2 separate regions of the Homo sapiens genome follow, and region 2 is linked to region 1. The links are contacts of gene promoters, found by promoter capture Hi-C in human tissues and cell types (Jung and others, 2019). All regions are on one chromosome and are shown on one strand. The core of a region is centred on a gene start or on the middle of the fragment in contact, and the rest is flanking DNA. Distances in the headings are between cores, read along the strand shown. Region 1 holds the start of ID3 (inhibitor of DNA binding 3). Region 2 holds the start of CDC42 (cell division cycle 42).

Region 1 (5,286 bases), core at 1-2,500:
CCACAAGTTCACAGTCCTTCGCTCCTGAGCACCAGGTTTAGTCTCCAGGAAGGGATTTGGTGAAGTCAAGTGGGCAGGGCGAAGTTGGGGCCCATCCCTGCCGTCCGGCTTCCGGCAGGAGAGGTTCCCGGGGTCCCAGGCAGAACGGGCGCCAGCACCTGCGTTCTGGGCGGGGGAGGAAAGAAGACCAAGGAGCAGTCAGTTTCCGCCGAGCGTGCCGAGGCGGGGGCCGTCCGCAGACTGGCCGGCGCCAGGGAGGAAACTTGGTCTGTACCTCCAGCTGATAACTCCGCGCCCCACGCTGCCCCCACCCAGTTGGCGCCAAAGACCACAGGCGGAGCTTGCGCTACCCCTCCTACTTGGAATTGACACTAGCTGGGAGGGGGCTGCCGAAGACAGCTCCCTATACAACATGGAACAGAAAGACTTGTATTTAGTCGGACCCATGTCTACTTTGCCAGACCCTCGGCCACTGCGGGAGGGCAGGGCCCAGGCGCATTTAAGGCTTAAATGCACATCACATGGAAACTGACTCTGCCATTCATTTGATGCAACCATGGGCAAGTCACTTGTCCCTCTCTGGCCTCAGTTTCCCTAAACCGAGTGAGTGGCAATTTTTCAAAACGTCTGCCAACTCCAGGACTTGCCGTTTAAACCTCCCTCTCCAAGAGAGGAGATACTCACCTGGAGGTGTCAGGACACGGCCGAGTCAGTGGCAAAAGCTCCTTTTGTCGTTGGAGATGACAAGTTCCGGAGTGAGCTCGGCTGTCTGATTAGAGGAAAAGAGGGAAGAGTTACGCGAGGCAATCGGGAGCTCCGAGGGTCCCGCAGCATCCTTGCCTGGGTGTTCAGCCCTGTCCCGACTTCGAGGCTTACCTGGATGGGAAGGTGGGGGCCATCAGGGGGTCCAGGGGCTGGCTCGGCCAGGACTACCTGCAGGTCGAGAATGTAGTCGATGACGCGCTGTAGGATTTCCACCTGGCTAAGCTGAGTGCCTCTCGGGACTCCGGGTACCAGTTCCCGCAGGCGGGAGTAGCAGTGGTTCATGTCGTCCAGCAAGCTCAGCGGCTCCTCAGCTGCCGGGCCCTTCCCTCGGCCCCGGGCGATGGCCAGACTGCGTTCCGACAGGCAGCACACCGCCTCGTAGCAGCCGCGCACCGGGCTCAGCGCCTTCATGCTGGGGAGTGAGTCCAGAGGTGCCCCAAAGAGAAAGAAAACCAAAAGAAGTCCCGCTACAGTGACCTGCAACGCGCGCACGCTCGCCGCGGCGGTCACTTATAGAGCCTGCCTGGAAGGCACGCCTCTTTATTCAAAATGGCCCGCCTCGGCCCTGCCCCCGCCGGCCCTGGGCGTTCACAGCCCGCTTAAATTGCAAACAGGCTTCCTCCGGCTGGTCTGACGCCGAAGACCGCGGAGCCGCGGATTCAAAGAATGAGGAAGCGCTGATACCGGGGAGAGGCGGGCCTCTCCGCCAGCAAGGATTTAAAAATCACTCAAAACCATTAACTTCCAGAATTTGCTTTTTCCTGGCAGCACCCCAGATCTTTGAGCTTCCCTGCCCCCTGCCAGTCCGCCTTTAGCCCAACACTGGTTCGAGCCACAGCTCCTCCGAGGTCATAAATCCCTGAACAGCAAAGAAGCTCCCCCCACCCCCCGTTTTTTTTAAGCGAAAGATTTTTCAAGGGAAACTTGTAAGGAATTAGTGCCGCCTTGTTCCCCAATTTGCTGTTCGTCTGACCTCCAGACTCACTGGCGTCAGGAATTATCTTGTGACCAGAGGGAAAAAAAATTAATTGCGGTGAAGCTGAGGTTACAATGAAGAAAACAGATTTGCGCTAGGCGCTGAGATTGCAGAAGGAGGAGGGAAAGGGGGTTTGAGCAAAGAACACTATTTATTTGAGCAACAGGGGAAAAGAAGAAAGCTTGAGCCCATGCTTTTTGCATGGGGAAAAAAGGAGCCTGGACCCTCTGCCCCATAAACTCCATAACGAACTAAATATATGCACAGTTGTGCTTTGTGAGTTCAATTAGAATTTTGGACAAGGTTTTAAATATGGAGGCACAGATGGGACAATTTCTACATAAACCTTTTTAAGAGCCCCCCCCCACCCAATTGGGTCAGCAAATTTCTTAACTTCCCCTCTCTTCACTTTCCACACACCTCTGTGTAGAAAACAGTGGTAATTTCATTGCTCTATTGTCTGTCCCTTTCTGCTATGGAAGGGCAGGCCACCTGGACTTGATTATTCTTAGCCCTGCTGAAGTAGCTCCAGCTCCATCTGAAAGACCAGGAAAGGAACCAGAGGGCCGGCAAACTAAGTCCTGTATTGCAACAGGACACTGTGCTCAGTATTCTTTGATTCTTTGCTTGCCTTCTTGTCACCTCCCTAGACATTTGGGGACCTGCACTTCCAAGATGCTGCTTTCCATTTTGGAAATGACCAAGTGGGATTCCCCCAATAGTTGCTTTCCTAATGAATCATTGGTGAATATTTATGGAGTCCCTCCGCATAAAACAGTGGCTCCTGCTTTCAAGAATCTCACAATTTGGGGAGACAAGATTAACACAGGAAACAAGAGTTCGATAATGTGTGGCACTGATTAACAGGACAAGGGGGGCTCAGAGCCAAAGAGAGTCGCAAAACGGTTGAAAAGGACACTGACTGGGAATTGAGAGCCCTGGGTTCATCATGCTAGCCCTGACAATAATTTGTCATGTAATCTTGAACAAGCCCAGGTACTCTGGCTTTAATTGCCTTGTGAGTAAAATAGACGATGGTACTAAGTGATTATTTAAAATCCTTTCCAATTGTAGAAGTCCAAGGTTGTGTGAAATTTGGATATGTAGGTGAAAGATGCTGAGGGGCCCAAGGAAGGCATTTAAGACATGCCCAATGTCACACTACAAGTAATAGCAGAGCCAGTCTTGAAGCCTCGTTCTTTTCCATCAAACCACAGGGCTCTGTGGCCCAAGAAAGATTTCTTCCTGGAATGTTTTTTTCAAGGACAGGCTCTTCAGTAAGAAAAGAGGAAGAAAACCTGTGAGTGGGCAAGTCAGTCTTTACATGCTACAGCCGTCAAGTGCCAGCTATTTGGTCAGGAAAGGCAAAATAATGGCTGTAGGAACTCCTGAATAACCGAAGAGAAGATCCTTCTTTTCCTATCTTGCAGACTTCTGTGGCAAAACGGTCAAGTCCAGAGGGTTCTAGAAAAATCACGGGCCAGGCAGATTTCTGTGCAAATGCCCATTCTTCTTCTTCTTCTTCTTTTTTTGTTTAAACTAATTGTGTAGACTTTGGCTGAGTTATCCTGGGTGCTTCTATTTTCCCATCTATAAAATGGAACTAATTGGGTCTACTCATTCATTCATTCGATAATTATTGAATGCCTCTTCTCTGCAAAGCACTTGATGTGTTCACTCCATCTGATCTTAGTCTTCTTACTGCCTGGGGGACCCAGCATGGGCCAGTTGTGTGGAAGGTGCTCAGTCTACCCAGATTCTCCTCCCTTCTTTTCCTTCCTCTACTACTGCAGCTGATGCCTCAGGCTTGTATAGTGATTTAGGTTTGCAAAGCACCTTCGCATTTATTATTTCCCAGGATGCTTCCAGGCTGAAATGCCCATGGGCTGTGTGACATAAGGCAGAAGGATGCTGTGGAATTAGCAAGCAAAATTCTGTTCTGTGCATGCCAATAATTTGCAGTGTGCCCTTGGACGAATTTCCTCCCTTCCTGGGCTTCATTTTCTCTTTAAAAAAAAAAAAAAAAAAAAGATAGTGGGTAGGTTGGGAGGAAGCAAGTGCCCTTTAATGGTCCTCTCTAGCCTAAGATTCTAATTCTGAAAGAAGCAGGTTATGGTTAGGAACACTGAATAGTGTTTAAACCCAAGAGACTTCTTTTTCCCCACAGCAGACTGGACAGGCTAGCTCAGGCCTTCTGCAACTTGTTTAGCAGTGGTGGGGCCTCAGCCTCTTATTCCAAATGCCTCTGAACTTTCTGTTCCCAGTTCTGCTCCTTTTACCAGCTTTTTCCCCCCTCTTGCATTTTTTATTTTTATGAAAGGATGTCATTAAGGCTTTTGTCTGCGCTGTTTTTGTTTCAGAACTTTTCTCACAATCCTATTTTTTGTTGAGGAATCCGCTCCTTTGCCCAGCTGTGGGTCCCGGTCCCACAGCTGTGTTGATCTAAGACTCAGCCCCAGACAGCCTGGCGCCAGGGTGGGACGTCATGCGTTCACACAGGGATGCGTGTCCCAGGCAACCTTTCCTCGGGCAGTCACCGGCCGGCGACTGCCTCCCCCACCAATGAGCGCCGGACACCCGAGAAAGGGGCGGGGTCTGCATCGCCCCAACCGCGAGCGGCTTGTGAATTGCAGATGCTGAGAACTTGATAATGTTGCTTCAATTGGGGCCCTTTAAAGTCTTTTTTTTTCTTTCTCTTTTAGTTCTTTATTTTCTTTTGTCTATTCCCTTTCTTTCCACCTTCTTCCTTTATCTATATATGTGTATAATTTTTCTTCTTCTTTTTTCTAACTATCTCCTCCCAGTGTCAGGAATCATTTTGTAAGCATTTCCAGGAACTCAATCTTCCTCTGCCAAAATAAAAAAAAGAAAAAAAAATTCAATGTTGTGCTCTCTGATTTTTTTTTTTTTGAGAAGTTGGCAGAACTCTTTAAGTTATACTGTTTTGTTTTTTAAAAAATTTTAGAATTTTTTAATTTCGTGGTAGTGGGCTCTCTAAATTGTTGATTTCAAAGTCAAAGTAATGATGACAAGGATTGCAGATGCCTTTTTGTCTAAGCTGAGCCTCTATTTATTATCTATCTATCATCTTTTTCCCATTTATGTCCCAGACATGGGGATCATGGGGACCTCAGAAACTTGCTCACGTTTACTTGGGATGTCAGTAGCTGGCCTATGGCCAGAACCCAGACCTCCTCTCATTTGACTCTCTGTCCACTCTGCCCTCTCTCTCTTTTTTTTTTTTGGGATGGAGTCTCACTCCGTCGCCCAGGGTGGAGTGCAGTGTTGTGATCTCGGCTCACCGCAACCTCCACCTCCTGGGTTCAAACGATTCTTCTGTCTCAGTCTCCTGAGTAGCTGGGACTACAGGCGCACGCCACCACACCCGGCTAATTTTTGTATTTTTAGTAGAGACAGGGTTTCACCATATTGGTCAGGCTGGTCTCGAACTCCTGACCTCATGATCCGCCCGACTTGGTCTCCCAAAGTGCTGGGATTACAGGTGTGAGCCACCGCGCCCGGCACTCTTAATAGCATTAGGGTGG
Region 2 (5,431 bases), core at 269-2,768, 1.5 Mb before region 1:
ATTTTGATGGTGCTGAGTAGCTGGAAATTTGAAAATGGGGGTAGGATGCCGGGCGCGGTGGCTCACGCCTGTAATCCCAGCACTTTGGGAGGCTGAGGCGGGTGGATCGCCTGTAGTCAGGAGTTTGAGACCAGCCTGGCCAACATGGTGAAACCCCATCTCTACTAAAAAATACAAAAATTAGCTGGGCATGGTAGCAGTTGCCTGCAATCCCAGCTACTCGGGAGGCTGAGGCAGGAGAATCACTTGAACCTGGGAGGGGAGGTTGCAGTGAGCTGAGATCGCACCATTGCACTCCAGCCTGGTTGACAGAGTGAGACTCTGTCTCAAAAAAAAAAAAAAAAAAAAAAAAATTGGGGGTGGGAATAGGGGTTGGAAGAGGTATAGATTTGGGAGTTATTACCTAGAGGGTAGGGACAAGTACCTCATGGGCAGACAAGCAGGGCAGGGGTGGCAGTGATTCATCAAGAGTTTGGCAGTCATAAGCAACAGAAACCTACTCAACCTCGTTCAGGCAATAGAGGGAATTTATTGCTAATGTGACTGAAGATTGAAGCAAGACTGGATCTGATGTCTCATGCAATGCCACTGGGACTTGGTTTCATGTCTCCATCTCTCAGTTCTGTTTCCCCCTCTGTCTTGGTCTCATTCTCAGGCAGCATCTCTGCTTGCAGTGGGAAGCTGGCTGCCAGCAGTGCCACGATTACATCCTACTCTCAGCAAACAGAGATTCACTGAACTGAATAGTTGTGACCAAAGTTCCAGAATTAAATCTCATTGGGTCACATGCCTGTTGCTGAAATGGTGTGGCAACAGGGCTCTCTATAATGCTGTGATTGGCCAAGCCTGGGTCACGTGTCCATTCCCGCAACTAGAGATAGTGTCATCTCTAGAGCCACATGGATTGAGAGTTGGGGCAGGGGCTGCTCTAGGAGAAATGGAAGTGCTGTTACCAGAAGGAAGAATGGACACCGGAATGGTAGCCACCGGGAAGGGAGCCGGAGTCCCACAGGCTGTCCCTCCTGTTAACATGAGGCAGCTATAGCAGTGGGGCAGTAGCGGGGAGGCACTAGGAGGCTGGGGGCTGGGCCAGCAGTGAGGGACATGGTAGATTGGGTCAAGTAATAGTAACACCATTGCCACTGCTGTTTGGGGCTGTGAAAAGGTCTAGGAGGGTTCTTCTGACAAAAAACCTGACAACATAAAAGACATAGTGCTAAGTAAGTCCTTGTCCTCAGAATAAAGGCAGGAAAAGCTGAACAGTTGGGTGACACCCCATCAAGATATTGCTGCTACTGGAAAGGGCAGACGTTGTCTGGGGACATTCATGGGATTGTGAGACAGGATGAAGGAAAGGGCACTGCCAGCTGGACTTGTGAAGGGAAGAAACAACCATTTTCCCCTCAAGTTTAAAAAATGAAGCTTATGCATTTTTACAATAGTAATAAATTCACAATAGCCCAAAACAACCCAAATTCCAACAGTAGGAGTCTGGGTAAATATTGCAATGCCCGGAGAGTAAAATGCAGCCTTTACAAATGATGCTTTATTTGACATGGAAAGATGTTCACAATGTAGTTTTTTTGTTTTGTTTTGTTTTTGTATTTTTTGTAGAGATGGGTGGGGGCAGGTCTTGCTATGTTGCCCAGACTGGTCTTGAACTCCTGGGCTCAAGTGATCCACCCGCCTCGGCCTCCCAAAGTGTTAGGATTATAGGTGTGAGCCACATTAGAGGTAGGACTACAGCTGAAGCTTATCTTCCTGTTTTTTTTTTTTAGGTGGGGTTTTGTTCTTGTTGCCCAGGCTAGAGTGCAATGGCGCAATCTCGGCTCACTGCAACCTCTGCCTCCCAGGTTCCAGCGATTCTCCTGTCTCAGCCTCCCGAGTAGCTGCGAATACAAGTGCATGCCACACCCAGCTAATTTTTGTATTTTTAGTAGAGAAAGGGTTTCACCATGTTGGTCAGGCTAGTCTTGAACTCCTGACCTCAAGTGATCCGCCCACCTCGGCCTCCCGGAGTGCTGGAATTACAGGCGTGAGCCACCGCACCTGGCTTTTTTTTTTTTTTTTTTTTGAGACAGAGTTTCACTTTTTTGTCGCCTAGGCTGGAGTGCAATGGCATGATCTCGGGGTCACTGCAACCTCCGCCTCCTGGATTCAAATGATTCTCCTGCCTCAGCCTCCCAAGTAGCTGGGATTACAGGCACCTGCCACCACACCGAGCAAATTTTTGTGTGTGTGTTTTTTAGTACAGATGGGGTTTTACCATGTTGGTCAGGCTGGTCTTCAACTCCTGACCTCAGGTGATCCACCAGCCTCAGCCTCACAAAGTGCTGGGATTACAGATGTGAGCCACTGTGCCTGGCCTGAAGCTTATCTTCTAATTTCTCTATAATAAACCTGCTTGATAGTGTGGTAGTGTCATAGTCAACTAGAGCCAGCCTCCTGAGTGCAAGTCTCAGCTCTGCCACTGCTTGGCATGGCGGCTATGGACAAGTCTCTTAACACCTCTGAGCTTCAGTTCATGTAACCATAAAGTGGGGGTAACAGTTCTTAACTCATAGGGTGGCTGTGAGTATTAAATTAGCTACTACTACCTGCAAAGCTATTAGCCATACCTGCAGTAAACACTAAAAAATGTAGTTCTTATTTTTGGGTAATTAAAAAATCCAAAAGAGGGCTGGGTGCGGTGGCTTACACCTGTAATCGCAGCCCTTTGGGAGGCCAAGGCAGGTGGATCACAAAGTCATGAGTTCAAGACCAGCTTGGCCAATATGGTGAAACCCCGTCTCTACTAAAAATACAAAAATTAGCTGGGCATGGTGGTGGGCACCTGTAGTCTCAGCCACTTGGGAGGCTGAGGCAGGAGAATTGCTTGAACCCGGGAGGCGGAGATTGCAGTGAGCCGAGATCGAACCACTGCATTCCAGCCTGGGTGACAGAGCGAGACTCCGTCTCAAAAAAAAAAAAAAAATCCAAAAGAAAATATGACTATAAGTCAATATACTGGAATTAAGTGTCTTTGTTGGCCAAATAGCTGTGGCAGTAGACAATAAATGAGCTGTTATTAAGATAAGCAATTTTTTTTTATTTTTTTTGAGACAGAGTCTCGCTCTGTTGCCCAGGCTGGAGTGCAGTGGCGCGATCTTGGCTCACTGCAAGCTCCGCCTCCCGGGTTCACGCCATTCTCCTGCCTCAGCCTCTCGAGTAGCTATGACTACAGGAGCTCGCCACCACGCCCGGCTAATTTTTTTGTATTTTTAGTAGAGGCGGGGTTTCACCGTGTTAGCCAGGATGGTCTCGATCTCCTGACCTCGTGATCCGCCCGCCTTGGCCTCCCAAAGTGCTGCGATTACAGGCATGAGCCACCGTGCCCGGCCTAGGATAAGCAATTTAAGCGATTTTTCTCTAACATGGGGAAACATCTAAGAATAAGAGAGGGAAGTTCTCTATTTTCCTGAAGCTTTCATACTAGCAGAGAAGACAAATAATAGATACTGCGAAGATAGGATGATTGAAGAATGCAGTGATATAAATTTGGGGGAAGAGGAGGGAGGCAGAGCAAAGAAATTCAAGGCCTTGGCCAGACGTAATGTCTCACACCTTGTAATCCCAGCAGTTTGGGAGGCTGAGGCAGGCTGATAGCTTGTGTCCAGGAGTTCGAGACCAGCCTGGGCAATCCAGCAAAACCCTGTGTCTACAAAAAAATACAAAAATTAGCCAGGCATGGTGGCATGCGCCTGTGGTCCCAGCTACTTGGGAGGCTGAGGTGGGAGAATCGCCGGGACGTCGAGATTGCAGTGAGCTGAGATCGTGCCACTGCACTCCTGCCTGGGTGACAGAGCAAGAACGTCTCAAAGAAAAAACAACAACAACAACAACAACAACAACAACAAAAACACAAGGCCTGTGGTTGGGGGAAGGTTGTAACTCTAAAAAAGACCCATGTGGCTACAGCGAGGGACACTGGGTGTAGGTAGAGATAAGAAGAGTGATACTCAGTTCTCACATCACGGCGGACTGAATACAGGCCCGGGGAGTGAGAGACCATCCACCCCTGTGATCTGGGGCAAGTCACCAGCCCTTTCAGAGAAGCTTCCGTCTTCTCTGCAAAATGGGACAATACCTTGCTTCACAAGCTTGCAAGGATCAAAAGAACTGGTAGTGGGCCGGGCGCGGTGGTTCACGCCCGTAATCCCAGCACTTTGGGAGGTCGAGGCAGGTGGATCACTTACTTGAGGTCACGGGTTCGAGACCAGCCTGGGCAAAATGGTGAAACCCCGTGTCTGCTAAAAATACAAACATTAGCCTGGCGTGGTGGCAGGTGCCAGTGATCCCAGCTACTCGGGAGGCAGAGGCAGGAGGATCGCTTGAACCCAAGGGGTGGAGGTTGCAGTGAGCTGAGATCGCGCGCTGCACTCCAGTCTGGGCAACAGATCAAGACTGTCTCAGAAAAAACAAACAAAAAAGAACTGGTAGAGGAAGCGCTTTGCATACTATCGTTCACAGTATTATTACAAATACAACCATTAGGAAAACATGCAGAGCATAGCCCCGAACTCACGAGCTGCGCCGGCCCGCGCGTGCGCGACAGGCGGGCGGAGCCAGGGCAGTCCAGGCACCGCCTTGACCCGCCCCAGCCTCTTCCCCTTCCCTGTTCCTCCCACTTCCGCGGGCACCCAACTGTGCGTCTCCTGCGCGCTGACGTCAGGTGCGTGCCCCTGTCCGGCAGCCGAGGAGACCCCGCGCAGTGCTGCCAACGCCCCGGTGGAGAAGCTGAGGTGAGTGCGGGGCCCGAGGTTCCCCGCGGGAGCTGCCACCCTACCTTCCCATCCCCGCCGTCTCCGTCCTCTCCCAGTCCTCGGGGACACCCCGTCTGCGGGATCGTGGGGGGCCCGGGAGCACGGGTTGTGGGGGAGTGCCCGGCTCGCGCTGCGTCCTCCGGGCGGGCGCGGGTCCGCGTTCTGTGGGGGAGCCGGGGCGGGGGTCGCGGCCGGGGAGGCAGGGGGCGCCCGTCTGAGGAGGGGCGCGCGGCCGGGGCTCGGGGCGCGAGCGGGACCGGGCTGTCACCGGCAGCGGCGGAAGGAAGGGGGTCACACCCATCCTGGGCGCCCGGGCTCCCCTCCCCCCAGCCCGGCCCGGCGGGCTCCTAAGGGCGGCCGGGGGCCTCAGAGCGACTCGCGGGCGCTTGGGCCGGGCCGGGCGCCGGTCTTCCGTGCTGGCAGGCTGCGTTCCGTGCCCTGCGCTCCGGCCTGGACTTCCTGCTTCGCCGGGCGCCGCCGCGGACATTTTGCGGCGGGGGTGGGGGGGCGGGGGAGGGGAGTGGCGTTGCGGCCGCGGCGGGGCGGTGGCAGGAGGGCAGCTCGCTGGCTGCTCGCGGCGGTGCCTGTCCGAGCTCCCCTCCGCGCCGGCCGCGTCCTCTGGGCGGGGT

What was found. The method cuts DNA at HindIII sites, captures the fragments that hold promoters and counts their contacts. A contact is called where the count stands out against the background at its distance.
Region 2: a contact is called between a fragment that was not itself captured here and the fragment with the promoter of ID3 in region 1, in 1 of the 25 tissues and cell types used here (dorsolateral prefrontal cortex).

The regions. Positions count from the first base shown.
Region 1 is chr1:23,558,251-23,563,536 of GRCh38, forward strand. It overlaps ID3 (inhibitor of DNA binding 3), which reads right to left and starts at 1,251. Exons shown (of 3, transcript NM_002167.5): 1 at 877-1,251; 2 at 685-769; 3 at 1-165. The coding sequence starts at 1,176. The coding sequence ends at 710. All of the region lies in intron 2 of LOC124903876 (a long non-coding RNA gene), which reads left to right. RefSeq lists an enhancer at 121-250 and silencers at 1,191-1,450, 1,318-1,564. The HindIII fragment of the contact is 6,582 bases long and covers 1-4,079 here.
Region 2 is chr1:22,047,962-22,053,392 of GRCh38, forward strand. It overlaps CDC42 (cell division cycle 42), which reads left to right and starts at 4,748. Exons shown (of 6, transcript NM_001791.4): 1 at 4,748-4,781. RefSeq lists silencers at 4,837-4,986, 5,047-5,266, 5,277-5,431 and an enhancer at 5,169-5,431. The HindIII fragment of the contact is 4,522 bases long and covers 1-3,779 here.